Linked DNA regions of Homo sapiens: regions 1, 2 and 3 are each linked to region 4. The links are contacts of gene promoters, found by promoter capture Hi-C in human tissues and cell types (Jung and others, 2019). All regions are on one chromosome and are shown on one strand. The core of a region is centred on a gene start or on the middle of the fragment in contact, and the rest is flanking DNA. Distances in the headings are between cores, read along the strand shown. Region 1 overlaps LDLRAD4 (low density lipoprotein receptor class A domain containing 4). Region 2 overlaps LDLRAD4 (low density lipoprotein receptor class A domain containing 4). Region 3 overlaps LDLRAD4 (low density lipoprotein receptor class A domain containing 4). Region 4 holds the start of CEP192 (centrosomal protein 192).

Region 1 (3,134 bases), core at 114-2,613, 610 kb before region 4:
AAGGTACTTTAAAAACTTAAATATTTATAAAAATCAGAGTTTTCTAGAATAAAAGCTCCCTCAACACTTTTCTTTTTCACTGTTTTAAATTTGTTATGTCCATAGCCTTTCTTTTCTTTCTGACTGAAAACATATAGCGATGTCCTCCCATTAAATGTCCTCTCCAATAGGATTCCTTGGAACCTGTTCCAATGCTGAAAGCCATGATGTGCCTGGAGGGATTGCTTAGTTCAATATTTTACTTATTTGTGACTTGAAAAAGTACTGAAATGACAAATTTTTATTTGTTTTTTAATTTCTAGTTTTTCTTCTTTTTATTTTTTAAATAAAAAATTAGGCCGGGCACAGTGGCTCACACCTGTAATCTTAACACTTTGGGAGGCCAAGGTGGGCAGATCACTTAAGGTCAGAAGTTCGAGACCAGCCTGGCCAATATGTTGAAACCCAGACTCTACTAAAAATACAAAAATTAGTTAGAAATTCCTTGAACCCGGGAGGCGGAGGTTGCAATGAGCTGAGATTGTGCCACTCCACTCCAGCCTGGGTGACAGAGTGAGACTCCATCTCAAAAAAAAAAAAAAAAAAAAAAATTAAATGCCATGGTTTAAGAATGATGTCTGATAAAATTCCCCCCATCCCACCACCAATGATGATTCCCAAAGCAACCAATATACTGCTTTGGGAAGGATGTGGATTTGCAGTCAGATATCCTGGGTTGAAATTCTAACCCCTACTAAACTGTCTGATACGATCAAGTTCTTTTTTACTTTTAGTATCAGGTTCGGGGGTACATGTGCAGGTTTGATACAAGGTTATACTGCATGCTGCTGGGGCTTGTGCTTCTATTGATCTTGTCTCCAAGACAGTGAGCATAATACCCGATAGGAAGTTTTTCAGCCCTTTCCCACCTCTCTCCTTCCTTCCTTTTGGAGTCCCCAGTTTCTATTGTTCCCATTTCTATGTCCATGAGTATCCAGTGCTTAGCTTCCATGTATAAGTGAGAAAATACTTATATTTACTTTTTCTGTTTCTGCATTAATTCACTTAGAATAATGGCCTCCGGCTGCATCCATGTTTCTGCAAAGGACATGATTTCATTCTTTTTCACAGCTGTGTAGTACTTCATGGTGCATATGTACCACATTTTCTTCATCCACTACGGATGGACATCTAGGTTGATTCCATGTCTTTGCTATTGTGAACAAGTGCTACAATAAATATACAGGTGCAAGTGTCTTTTTGGTAGACTGATTTATTTTCCTTTGGGCATATATCCAGTAGTGGGATTGCTGGGTGGAATGGTAGTTCTATTTTCAGTTCTTTGAGAAATCTCCAAACTGCATTCTATAGTGGCTGAACTAACTTGCATTTCCACCAAGAGTGTGTAAGTGTTCCCTTTTCTTTTCCTTTTTTTTTCTTTTTTTTTTTTTCAGACAGAGTCTCACTCTGTCGCCCAGGCTGGAGTGCCGTGGCGCAATCTTGGCTCACTGCAAGCTCCGCCTCCCGGGTTCATGCCATTCTCCTGCCTCAGCCTCCCGAGTAGCTGGGACTACAGGCGCCCGCCACCATGCCCGGAAGTGTTCCCTTTTCTCTGCAGCCTCGTCAATATCTGTTATTTTTTGTCTTTTTAATAATAGCTGTTTTGACTGCTGTGAGGTGGTCACTGTGGTTTTGATTTGCATTTCTCTTATGGTTAGTGATGTTGAGCATTTTTTCCTATGTTTGTTGGTCACTTGTAAGTCTTCTTTTGAGAAGTGTTTGTTCATGTCCTTTGCCCAGTTTTTAGTGGGGTTATTTGTTTTATTCTCATTGATTTGTTTACATTCCTCATAGATTTTGGATAAATGATCATTGTTAAATGCATTATAACATCAGATTTCTGCGTTTAAAATATTTCTACAGGGCTGACAAATGGAAACATGACAAACTTAGCTGTGAATGTGAGGCCCCTGGTTAACCAGAGATAATGGAGATGGATCGACTGGACTTTATGATGACACCTTGCCACCATGAAATGGACAGAAGCCAAAGGGTTAGGAGAACAGGTGCCCATCCTCCCTAAAGGCCTGATAGTGCCTTTTATGCAGATAAGGAGAAACATGGTCTTGTTTTGATTAAAAATGACCTTAATTAAGTCTGTTATTCTCAACATAGTAAATACCCACAGCAGGAAAGCAAATACAGTAAAATAGAGTGTTAATAATAAAAATGTAGAGTCCTCATAGAAGGAATGCTACTCTGGCAGAAACCCATCTAATTTTGGTTATACAAATAAAAGTAATTTTAAAAAAATTTACAAGCTTAGAAATGGTAATACTGCAAATACCTTTACAATTTTGTTTCCTATAATATACCTTACAGAAAAATTTTCCAAACCAGTCTATCACCATTCATCCTCTGAGAGGCAGAAATCCTGGCAAAGGTTGGCTGCAGGGTGGCAATTTGGTCACACATGGTCTTCTTGGTGATTTTTAGCTCAAACAGACAAAACAGCAAATGGCGAACCTTGATCAGACTCCAGCTGAATGCCCTGGAAGTCTTAGGCTACAGATTCTGTCTGCTGTCATTATGCCTGGAACATTTTGGCTTTAGTGACTCTTGATGCAGTTGGATGCTGGTCAGGAGACCCAGGGTCTAGTGCCACCTGTCCTGCTAGCTGAAAGTGACATCTTGAGTCACACAGCTGTGCAGTCCTCACATGTCTCATTTCATTGCTAGGACCAAATCAATGTCTTGCACACTTCAGTCCAAGTCCTTCAAGTCCCACCCTAAGGATTCTTAAAATACCTGCACTCCACATGTTCTATTATTTATTTAATATTGATTTTAAACTGGACTTCAATTAATTCATTTTTTAAAAAATTTAACTTCTAAGTAACAATATCCAAAAAATCACAGGCCTGATATGCTAGATATTTTAAATAAAACATTTGAGGCAAGCATATTATTAAAAATTGTATAATAAAATTACAGGTATAGTGGTATGTGCCTATAGTTTCAGCTACCTGGGAGGCTAAGGCAAGAGGATTGCTTCATTTGCTCAGGAGTTTGAGACCAGACTGGTCAATATAGTGAGACCCTGTCTCTATTTTTAAAAGATATATAATAAAATCCAAAACAATCTTTAATGTTAT
Region 2 (3,105 bases), core at 212-2,711, 590 kb before region 4:
ACAGAGCTTATTATTCTGTAATATATTACCAGGAATCAGCAATCTCCACACAACGCCAGTTTGTGTTCAGTAAGAGGTATTTTGGTTGATGTAGCAATTGTGCTTACATTTGGAGAAAATCTGGAAAAGCAGTTGTCTGTATCAGTAAAATTCATCACTAAAATTAAATGCTTTAATTTTCCTAATGGGCTTGAAAGGGGGAGTGGGAAACCAAATGTGCTTTGAAAAGATAATCTCCTGGAAGAGGAAGTCTGTATGAAGGCTTAATCAAATCTGGGGCAGAAGTTATGTTGCCAAAATTACTAATCATCAGAATGACCCTGCTTGCTCATTAGTGCATTAATAAGTGTGGCCACCCTTCACCTGAGCAGGCTGCTAATCTCCACGGTCAGGCATAATCCATTTCTTCTCCTCTCTCTTCACCTCAATATTAATGGCTTAGCAAAGACCCCTTTAAAAAAACAGAACCCAGAAGGCACTGTTATTTATCACCGAAGATAAATTCATGCAGCTTACAGTATTCATGCCAGAATAAAGAGAGCCAGTAACAGATTTGTTCCTGATGCATTAGAAATGAGCCCCAGTGACAAACTCCTGCTCTCTCCCCAGCAAAGCTGATGTATTGACTAGACAGGTAGATATGAGCTACTCAGGCTGTCTGGGTGCTATGGAAATCATGTCGAGTGCATTTGACCATCGGCAATGGGGCCAGACACGCATGAGGCTCATTCTTATTCCAGCCAGGGAAAAGGCCTCGTCTGCATTTGCCTTTTGCTGAAAGGCTGCCATATTTGTCAGCTCAGACGCGTGTAAGATAAGCTCTGTCCTCGTTATCTAATATTTCACCAGGCAGTGGAACCGAAGGATAAGGACACCCTAATTGCCTACGTGGGCAGCAAAGCTTGAGTGCTGTCAGGCCCAGCACGAAGCCTGGAGCCTGGACAAGAGGAAGTTTACCGCAGAAGTTAATCACTTCATTTGGAAGGAAAGCCCTGAAGGATTTGGACAATTATGGTTTATCCTGGTTCTACAGTGTATCAGGAGACAGATCCAAAGTTCTCACTGCAGAATAATCTTCAGACAACTTGCCTTTCTTCCCCACAGCACACTCTTAACTTAAATTTACCCTAGGATTAAGCACAATAAGAAGTGGTAATATGGAATTATTTGTGCACAGTTAACAAGAAATGAGTATGAGAAAAGACAGGTTTTGTAGCCATCCCTCCACCGAGCCATCCTATGATTCCTCCATTGGCTAAGTCTTCCTGGGCGCCAGGTGCAGTGCTAGTCACCGAGGGGAACAACACGGATGAGCTCCTGTTCTCAGACAAGCTGGAAGTGTCTGGGAAGGAAGAGGAGACAGATAGCAGATAGCTACAAACCAGCTGGGCAGGGCTATCACAGAATCATCACAGCTCAGCTCAGGAGAGGAGAGGAAGCGCCAAGCAGTGGGAAGAAGAGAGAGTGGAAGAAGGCTTCCTGTAGGAGGTGGCCACTCATCTGAGTCTTAAGGGATAAGTAATAATTAGTCAGATGACAGAAAGAGGGGACAAGATTCCAGGGGGAAAGACTGTCATGAAGCAGAGGTTAAGAGATGACAGAGCACAGTGTGTCTGGGACAACCCTAAGCAATTGGAGTCCAGGGCATTATGACGATGAAGAGACCAAGGCAGGCAGAGGCAGACGCCGGTCACAGGCTTTCCCCTGTGGCCCCAGAGCACTGAAGGGTGATGGGAGGCAACGTGGCTTCGGGTGGGCCGGGCTCACCTGCACTCTCAGCAAGATGGGTGTGGGAGATGGGCTAAGGGCGGTGGTGGTCCTCAAGGGAAGCCAGGCTGAGGCTGCGGAGATGGGAAGGGCACGGCAGGCCTGTAGGCAGCTGGGGGAGCAGGGCGAGGTGACCCCGCTCTGTGAGTGGCAGAAAGTGCTCGCAGGTTCCATTCTCTTCCCTCTGAGCCTGACATTCATTAAGCCCTGCCATGCCAGAACTGTGAAAGGCAAAGCGAGAGACACAACAATAAGACTCCGCCAGCAGTGGGGAGCCGCAGCGCCCTGGCTCGGTGACTCAAGCAGGCTTCGGCGCGGCCGGGCCCCCCAACACTACTTGTCAGTGAATGAAAGAGTGAAAACCACACCCTGGTCAAGCCACCGAGCCTCTTTTACTCTAACTTCATATCTTTTGGCAAATATCAATCTTTCTTAAAATTTAATTTATCAGTTGAACGTGGTGATATTATGTTCCTCTAAATATCTCAGCGGCCAAACTCGTTTCTTTCTTTTTGGAACTCTAATAACACTTATTTTTTACAACTCATTTAAAGTTCCCAATCCCATGCATTCTAGTACTACTAACTAGATCTTAGGCATCTCAAAGTTGGTGCCGTGACCACCACGTCCCTCCCCTAGGTCTCGGTAACAAAAGTCAGTCACCACACACGTGGCCATCAGGAGGCCGCCCCAGTCTGTCAGCCATCCTCTCTCCACCTCACCTTGTCATCTGCAGATTTAGACTACAAATATTGCCCTAACAATTTCACAGTGTTTTAGAAAAAAATGAGAGAATATAAAAGAAATACTAAAATATTAAATTACATGTATTTATATATAATTTTGTACTAATATTACAAAAGCTTCTAATTTTTTGGATAGCATCTAGTCCACTGTGGCTAGTAAATAAATTTTAAAATAAGAGCTATAATTCACAGTCTTATGGTGCGGGTGAAATAATCAAAAAGACCCAGAGACCAAAAAGAGCTCTTCAGCATGGAAACCTATTAAGGTTTGATTCAGATGAGTATACAAGCAAGACGCGGTGGCTCACCCCTATAATCCCAGCACACTGGGAAGCTGAGGTGGGAAGATCACTTGAGGCCAGAGTTGGAGACAAGCCTGGGCAACATAGCAAGACCCCATCTCTACAAAATGTAAAATTTAAAAATTAGCCAGCACAGCGGCATGCACCTATAGTCCTAGCTACTTGGGAGGCTGAGGCAGGAAGTTTGCTTGCGCCTGGGAGGTCGAGGCTGCAGTGAGCTATTCTCGTGCAACTGTACTCTAGCCTGGGTGACAGAGTGAGACCTCGTCTCTAGAAAAGTAAATTAAAAA
Region 3 (3,169 bases), core at 99-2,598, 540 kb before region 4:
CTTTATTTCAAAAAGTGAACTTGACTCTTAACTCATACCATATCCACAAATTAACTTGATAGGATCATAGAACTAAACATAAAAGCTGAAACTGTTAAACTTATAGAAGAAAACATGGGAGAAAATCTTTGTGACATTAGGTTGGGCAAAGATTTCTTAAACAGGACATGAAATCCACAATTTATATAAGAAAAATTATGAAATGGACCTCATACAAATAAAAAGCTCTTCATCTTTGAAAACAGCTAAGAAAAACAAAAAACAAACCACAGACTAGGAGAAAATATTTGCGGAAAATATATATCTAACAAAAAGTTTGTATTCAAAACATATATAGTTTTCTTACAAATCAATAGACAACCCAATAAAAAATGTGCAAAAGATTTAAAACAACATATCACAAAAGTAAAGACACAGATAAGCAAGAGGGACATAAAGAGATGCTCAACATCACTAGTCATGAGGGAAATGCATATTCAAACAACAGTAAGATGCACTACACAACCACCAGAATGACTAAAGGTAAAAGGACTGATAATATCAAGTGTTGATGAGAATGTGGCTCAATCAGAACCCCCATTCATTGCTGGCTGGAATACAAAATGTTAAAGCCACTTTGAAAACCAGTATAGCGTTACCCATTAAATTAAACACATATAACCCGGCCAGTCAACTCTCAGGTATTTAACAAAGAAAAATGAAAATATATGCCCACACAAAGACTTCTATGTGAATATTCACAGAAATATTATTTCTAATAGCCCCAAACTGGAAACAATGAACAGTTCCGTCAATGGATGAGTGGATGAACAGAGTAGGGTACATCCACACCATAGAACACTACTCAGCAGTACAACAGAATGAACCATGGAAACACACCATTATATGGATGAGTCTCAAAAACATAACCCTAAATGAAAGAAGCAAAACTGCAAGGATGACATAATGCATGTTTCTACTGTACTATATTCCAGAAGAGAAAAAAGTAGAGTGACAGCAGGTCCGAGGTGGCCTGGAGCCTGGGGTCGGGACTGGGGACTGGGTATCAAGGAACATGAGCCAACTTTTCAGGGAGATAAGACTGTTCTGTGACTGTGGTGTAGATTATGCAACTGTATGTCGTTACCAAAATTCATCGAACTCTTCACCAAAAGTGAGTAACTTTCACAGTATGTGAATTCTACCTCAGCAAAGCATACAAAAAGATGTCCCACAATAGATAGCAAATATCAAACATGAGTATAAGAAAGTACAGGGCACACCAGACAAATGCAGCCTCTCTCTCTTCTATGTGTTTATTTTGACTTTCTTTTTTTTTTTCTTTTTAGCAACAGGGTCTCTTCAAGAAAGATTATAAAGCCTTTTCGTCCTCTTTCTTAAAGCTTTCCTGTTGCAAGGTATGTTCCTTCAAACTGCAAAGGAATTTAAGAAAAACAACTCATTCAGTTAGGTTAAAAATGTAAATTAACATTCGTGTTTATGGGGGAAACACAGGGTGATTTAACAACAGGTCCCATTAAAAGTTTAGCCAGTTTTCTGAAAATAACATTTGACACATGCAGAGCATCTCCAAGAAGGCCAAATACCAAACGTACTCAGGCTGTGCAGTGAGCTCATTAGCCTTTAATTTAAAAAGTGTTGATATATTCATATGCAGGCCACATTAAAGAAAAAAAGTGAGAGTTACAGGGAAGTGCAGATAGGCACTGCCTTGAACCAATCGCCTATGAAACCTAAACAAGGTGGCAAAGTACAAAACCACCAGGAGTTTTTGTGGCAGAAGTGAGAAGGATATGGCTGGTTCCAACAATTCATAGGAAGCATCAGAAGGCAGGCAGCGTGGAGTGCCAGAAGACACACCTGGAGATTATTCCTGGGGGCTTAATGGGAAGGCAAGAGCTTCACGACCCTCTCAAGTTAAAATGCAATCTTAAAACTGCATTTTACATTGATGCATTTCATGGCATCATTCTATTTCACCTTTTGTCAAGTAGGAGAGCTGGGCAAGTCTCCCCGGTCCTTTACTGTTCAGTGAAAGGCACATCAGAGTCAAGAGAGAAACTTAAAAGTCCCTTTAATTCCCAGAGCAGAACCTTATTCACCTATTGAAGTAAGCCATTAAACTCAATTCAAAAATACCCATCTCATCCCTCCTTCTAACTATATACATAATGTGATATGTTTTAAAAGGCCTAAATGTAATTCAGATACATGGACTACTGCTTCATGGTAAGATTCAGTACATAATCACTTCCAAAACATCCATGGTAATGGGCAACTGGAGTACCGTTTGTAAGTACAATTTATATTTAAATCAAATCCACATGTTTAAACCAAATTCTTGCCAGGCACACTGAAAAATGTTACGGTTAATGCAAAGAATATGAAAAAAATTGGGATCATAAGCTAAGTGTAAATGCTTAATTCTATTTTGACTTTCTTCAAAATTAAGCCCTTTCTCCTTAAAATGCTCTAGTCCAAAGATCTGCTCATTGCAATGTTATTTTCTTTATCTTCCCTTTCTGGTTCTTCAAAGTGGTCATGAGGAGTTAAAAAGTAAATGTTTGACAGTAGTTGGGGACCAGAAATACATCAAAGTGACTGGGGTTTCAAGATGAAAAATCCATTGCAGCAACAAAAACATCTCTTTGTGGAGATACACAAGTTTATTCAGACAGAAGCCCTGTGACTTGAGCCCATCACTAGATGGTTGCTGTGAGGGGCAGGGACCTTGTCTATTGGTCGCTGGCTTATCCCTTAGCCCTGACACACAGTAGGTGCTCAGAAATTTGATGTATTAGTTAATGAAAAACAATGGGTAAATTAACTGGTATCTAACCCGAAGCAAGAAAACACTGGCACACTATTTCCAGCCAAACGAGGCTCATTTCCCGAGTGTTGTTTTGCTTCTCATTCAGAAAACCCGACATTGCTACTCCAAGCTCCTGACCAAGGGCTCCTTCCACGGCCCCTGCCCAGGACAGGGCCCCTGACCCTCAGCTTGGGAGCCTGGAGGACGGAAGGCGCAGGGCCAGGCATGCCATCACACCCCAGGAACACAAAGGAGCAAAGAAGGCTTCCACCCTGGGCACCAGGACTGCAAACTATTTCACAAGCGCCACTGCTATTAAACCTGATTACACAGATGAACATGCCTCTGTCCTGCCAA
Region 4 (2,810 bases), core at 157-2,656:
GTGCTTCAACAGAGCTTTGCTAAGGGTGCAAAGGTAACAAAACCCACGGGAAGATTCCTCAAGATGTAACCTAATACCTAGTCTCTTCTCCAGAAAAGATTACACTTGTAAACCATTCATGGACATAACACATTCCTAAAGGAAATTTCCTTTAATTTCTCACATTATTGCATTACCCACCCCTCCTCCATCATCTCAAGTGAAGACAATATTTTTCTTCTATCCTATTTGAACTGAGTGGCTATATTTGCAATTTCTCTTGCTATTTCCTTAAAGTAGTGACCTCAAATTTCACATCTGGACTCACTAATTACATTCCTAGGTACATAAAAGATTACTGACTATAGTCATTAATCGTAGGTCTATGTATACAATTAAACACATTTAAAAGCACACGCCGTGGAACCCAAAGCCGAGTCAAACTTCCCCAAAACTCATCATTTACTCTTGGCACTTTAAGATATACTTTAAAACTAGGTAGGCATTTGGTATATTATTGTTCAAGGCTTGCCGTTTTTGCCTAGAAAACTGAAATTTGGAGAAAAAGTTGATTTTGGAGCAGTAAAAACGCCAGTCGAATGACCTCAAAATAGTAAGAGCAAATGGAAATATGGTCATATAAACAGCTGTTCTCCAAACGACTGACTTGAAGAGGTCCTCATGTTTTACTAAACAAACTCTGAAAGTAACAGCAAAGTAAAAGTAGAGTGTATTAACATTCGTCTCATTTCACGTTCTGTTGATAATGAAATCATAGGCAAGGAATGTAGGTAAACTATTAGGAATAAATGAACGCAACCTAGCAGAAACCAAATCAAGTGAGTAAACGGAAGACAAGGGCATTAAGTTAAGTTAACAAGGTTACTTCCTGGGTCAGAATTTTAAACAAAAAGGAGGAACAGAACCGCCCATCACAGGGCACATAAAGGAAACATCACCGGTCACTTCACAAGCACACTGCAAGAAACTCCAGAGGGTAGCACGGAGAGGGCCTGTCCCTCAAGAGGTGGAAGTCCCCAGACAAGAGGGGAGGAAAGAAGGACGTGATCCCCTAACAGTCTGTCTCATCACGCCCGGCCAAAGCCCGATGACACAGAGGCGTGCAATTAATCCCAACCAGGCGGAGCTCAGCTCAGAGGCTGCGCCAGGCGCAGAGGCGCGGGAAGCGCGGCAGTCCCCTTGCTCGCGCCCTGAGGCCGCCCCACAGCCTGCGCCCCCACCCGGCCCAACCGTCACTGTCCCGTCGGTCCGGCAGCCGAAACGTAGGCCAAAGGTGCATGCGTCTGCCTCCCGCCTAGGCGCAGGCCGAGGCACCAGCGTCCCCCCTCACCGAGCCCGCGTCCCCGACTTCGGAGGGCAGTGTGCAGCGGGAAAGTCCACGGACTGAAGAGGTGTCCCAGGGCACTGCAAGTGCGCGTGCGCGTGGCCCCCGCACCGGCTGGAGCCCGGAACGGCCGTACCGCGCCCGCCTCTGGTTTACGTCTGTTCGCGGCACCAGGCAAGGGGAGGAGACTGAGCTGGCTTTTGATTGGACAGCGGGAAGACATGGGGCGGGAAGAAGCCCGGTGATTGGTGGGGACAGCGCGTTCCTGGATTTGAAGCGAGGAAGCCGCGCGCCCTGCGAGTCCGGAGGAGGAAATGGAGCTCTGCGCTGCGTGGGACCCGGGGGACGGCTCCCGTTGGCGCCGCCTTCAAGGTCTTGGCGAATTTGAAAATAATGCTTACTTTATTCAGTTTGGGTCTCCAGGGCACCGCCAGTCACTCTATGCGCAAAGAAGTATCCCCCGCCAACAAATCCCCCCCGATAGGTTTCGTCCTTCCGTGGGCAGATGCAGACCTTTCCTGTTGGTAGGCGCTGAAAGGCGTCAGGTTTCACCTTCAATCAGCTAATTCCTCGGGATCCAAGTTTCATGACATTTCGCCACATCTAGTCGCCTCTTTGTGACAGAGTAGGCTTTGTCTCGATTGCTTCCTACTTTTCTCCATCCTTCTTAGGCCACAAAACCCATCACCGCCATCTGCTCGGCACAGGCCCTTAACTACTTCACTGAGACCATGCCTTTCACTCAAAATGTATCTCAGTCTTTTTCAGTAAGGTCCCTTATCTCAAAATTTATTCCATATAGTCACAGAGGGAAAAGAGTCCCTCTTTTCCAAAGCTAACTCCTTAACTTCGTTCAAGTTACTGAAAGATGTCCGGCGCACCTTGGAGGAAAGAAGAGGGAAAACGCAAAGTTTAGAAGTCCCTAGACCTGAGGTTACTTGGTGGGGAAAGACGTCTGTTTACTTGACCACTTTCTACCTCCTGCAAACATGGCTCACCTGTCATTCTTGGATATCCTCTCCACTGGTTTCCTTCTCTCTGCCTACAAAAATGCAGCACCTCTCTACCCAAACACACACACCACACACCCATACACCACACACACCACTCACACCACAAACCACACACACCCACATATGCACCACACACACGTGTGTGACACGTATACACACATCCATACACAACACACACCCACATACACATCACCCACACACCACACACACCCTCCACACACAAACACCACTCAAACCACACACCCACACACACCCCTTCCTTGATTCTGTTTCATCACCTAATGACCATTCTTGTTTCCTTCCCTTAATGGTCTCCACTTTTTTTTCCATAGAGGAAGCCAGGCTTCCACTTTTTACACCTTATTTTGACGCATTTCATGGTGTCTAGCTGGGTCCTTAAAACTTTATCAGGAATAGACTCCTAATTGTCAAACTCAGTGATATCTCCACAGTTCGACACCTCTTCTTGGAAC

Evidence for each region. The method cuts DNA at HindIII sites, captures the fragments that hold promoters and counts their contacts. A contact is called where the count stands out against the background at its distance.
Region 1: a fragment that was not itself captured here is called in contact with the fragment with the promoter of CEP192 in region 4 in 1 of the 25 tissues and cell types used here (dorsolateral prefrontal cortex).
Region 2: a fragment that was not itself captured here is called in contact with the fragment with the promoter of CEP192 in region 4 in 1 of the 25 tissues and cell types used here (dorsolateral prefrontal cortex).
Region 3: a contact is called between a fragment that was not itself captured here and the fragment with the promoter of CEP192 in region 4, in 1 of the 25 tissues and cell types used here (dorsolateral prefrontal cortex).

The regions. Positions count from the first base shown.
Region 1 is chr18:13,599,950-13,603,083 of GRCh38, reverse strand. All of the region lies in intron 4 of LDLRAD4 (low density lipoprotein receptor class A domain containing 4), which reads right to left. Among named protein-coding and RNA genes, the nearest start is that of MIR4526, 9.6 kb to the left of the region's middle. The HindIII fragment of the contact is 8,354 bases long and covers 1-3,134 here.
Region 2 is chr18:13,582,712-13,585,816 of GRCh38, reverse strand. The region is part of intron 4 of LDLRAD4 (low density lipoprotein receptor class A domain containing 4); the gene reads right to left. Among named protein-coding and RNA genes, the nearest start is that of MIR4526, 27 kb to the left of the region's middle. The HindIII fragment of the contact is 4,344 bases long and covers 1-3,105 here.
Region 3 is chr18:13,532,704-13,535,872 of GRCh38, reverse strand. The region is part of intron 4 of LDLRAD4 (low density lipoprotein receptor class A domain containing 4); the gene reads right to left. Among named protein-coding and RNA genes, the nearest start is that of LDLRAD4-AS3, 63 kb to the right of the region's middle. The HindIII fragment of the contact is 4,596 bases long and covers 1-3,169 here.
Region 4 is chr18:12,989,958-12,992,767 of GRCh38, reverse strand. CEP192 (centrosomal protein 192) reads right to left here and starts at 1,406. Exons shown (of 45, transcript NM_032142.4): 1 at 1,331-1,406. RefSeq lists a silencer at 1,145-1,224 and enhancers at 1,705-2,084, 2,475-2,810. The HindIII fragment of the contact is 10,836 bases long and covers 1-2,810 here.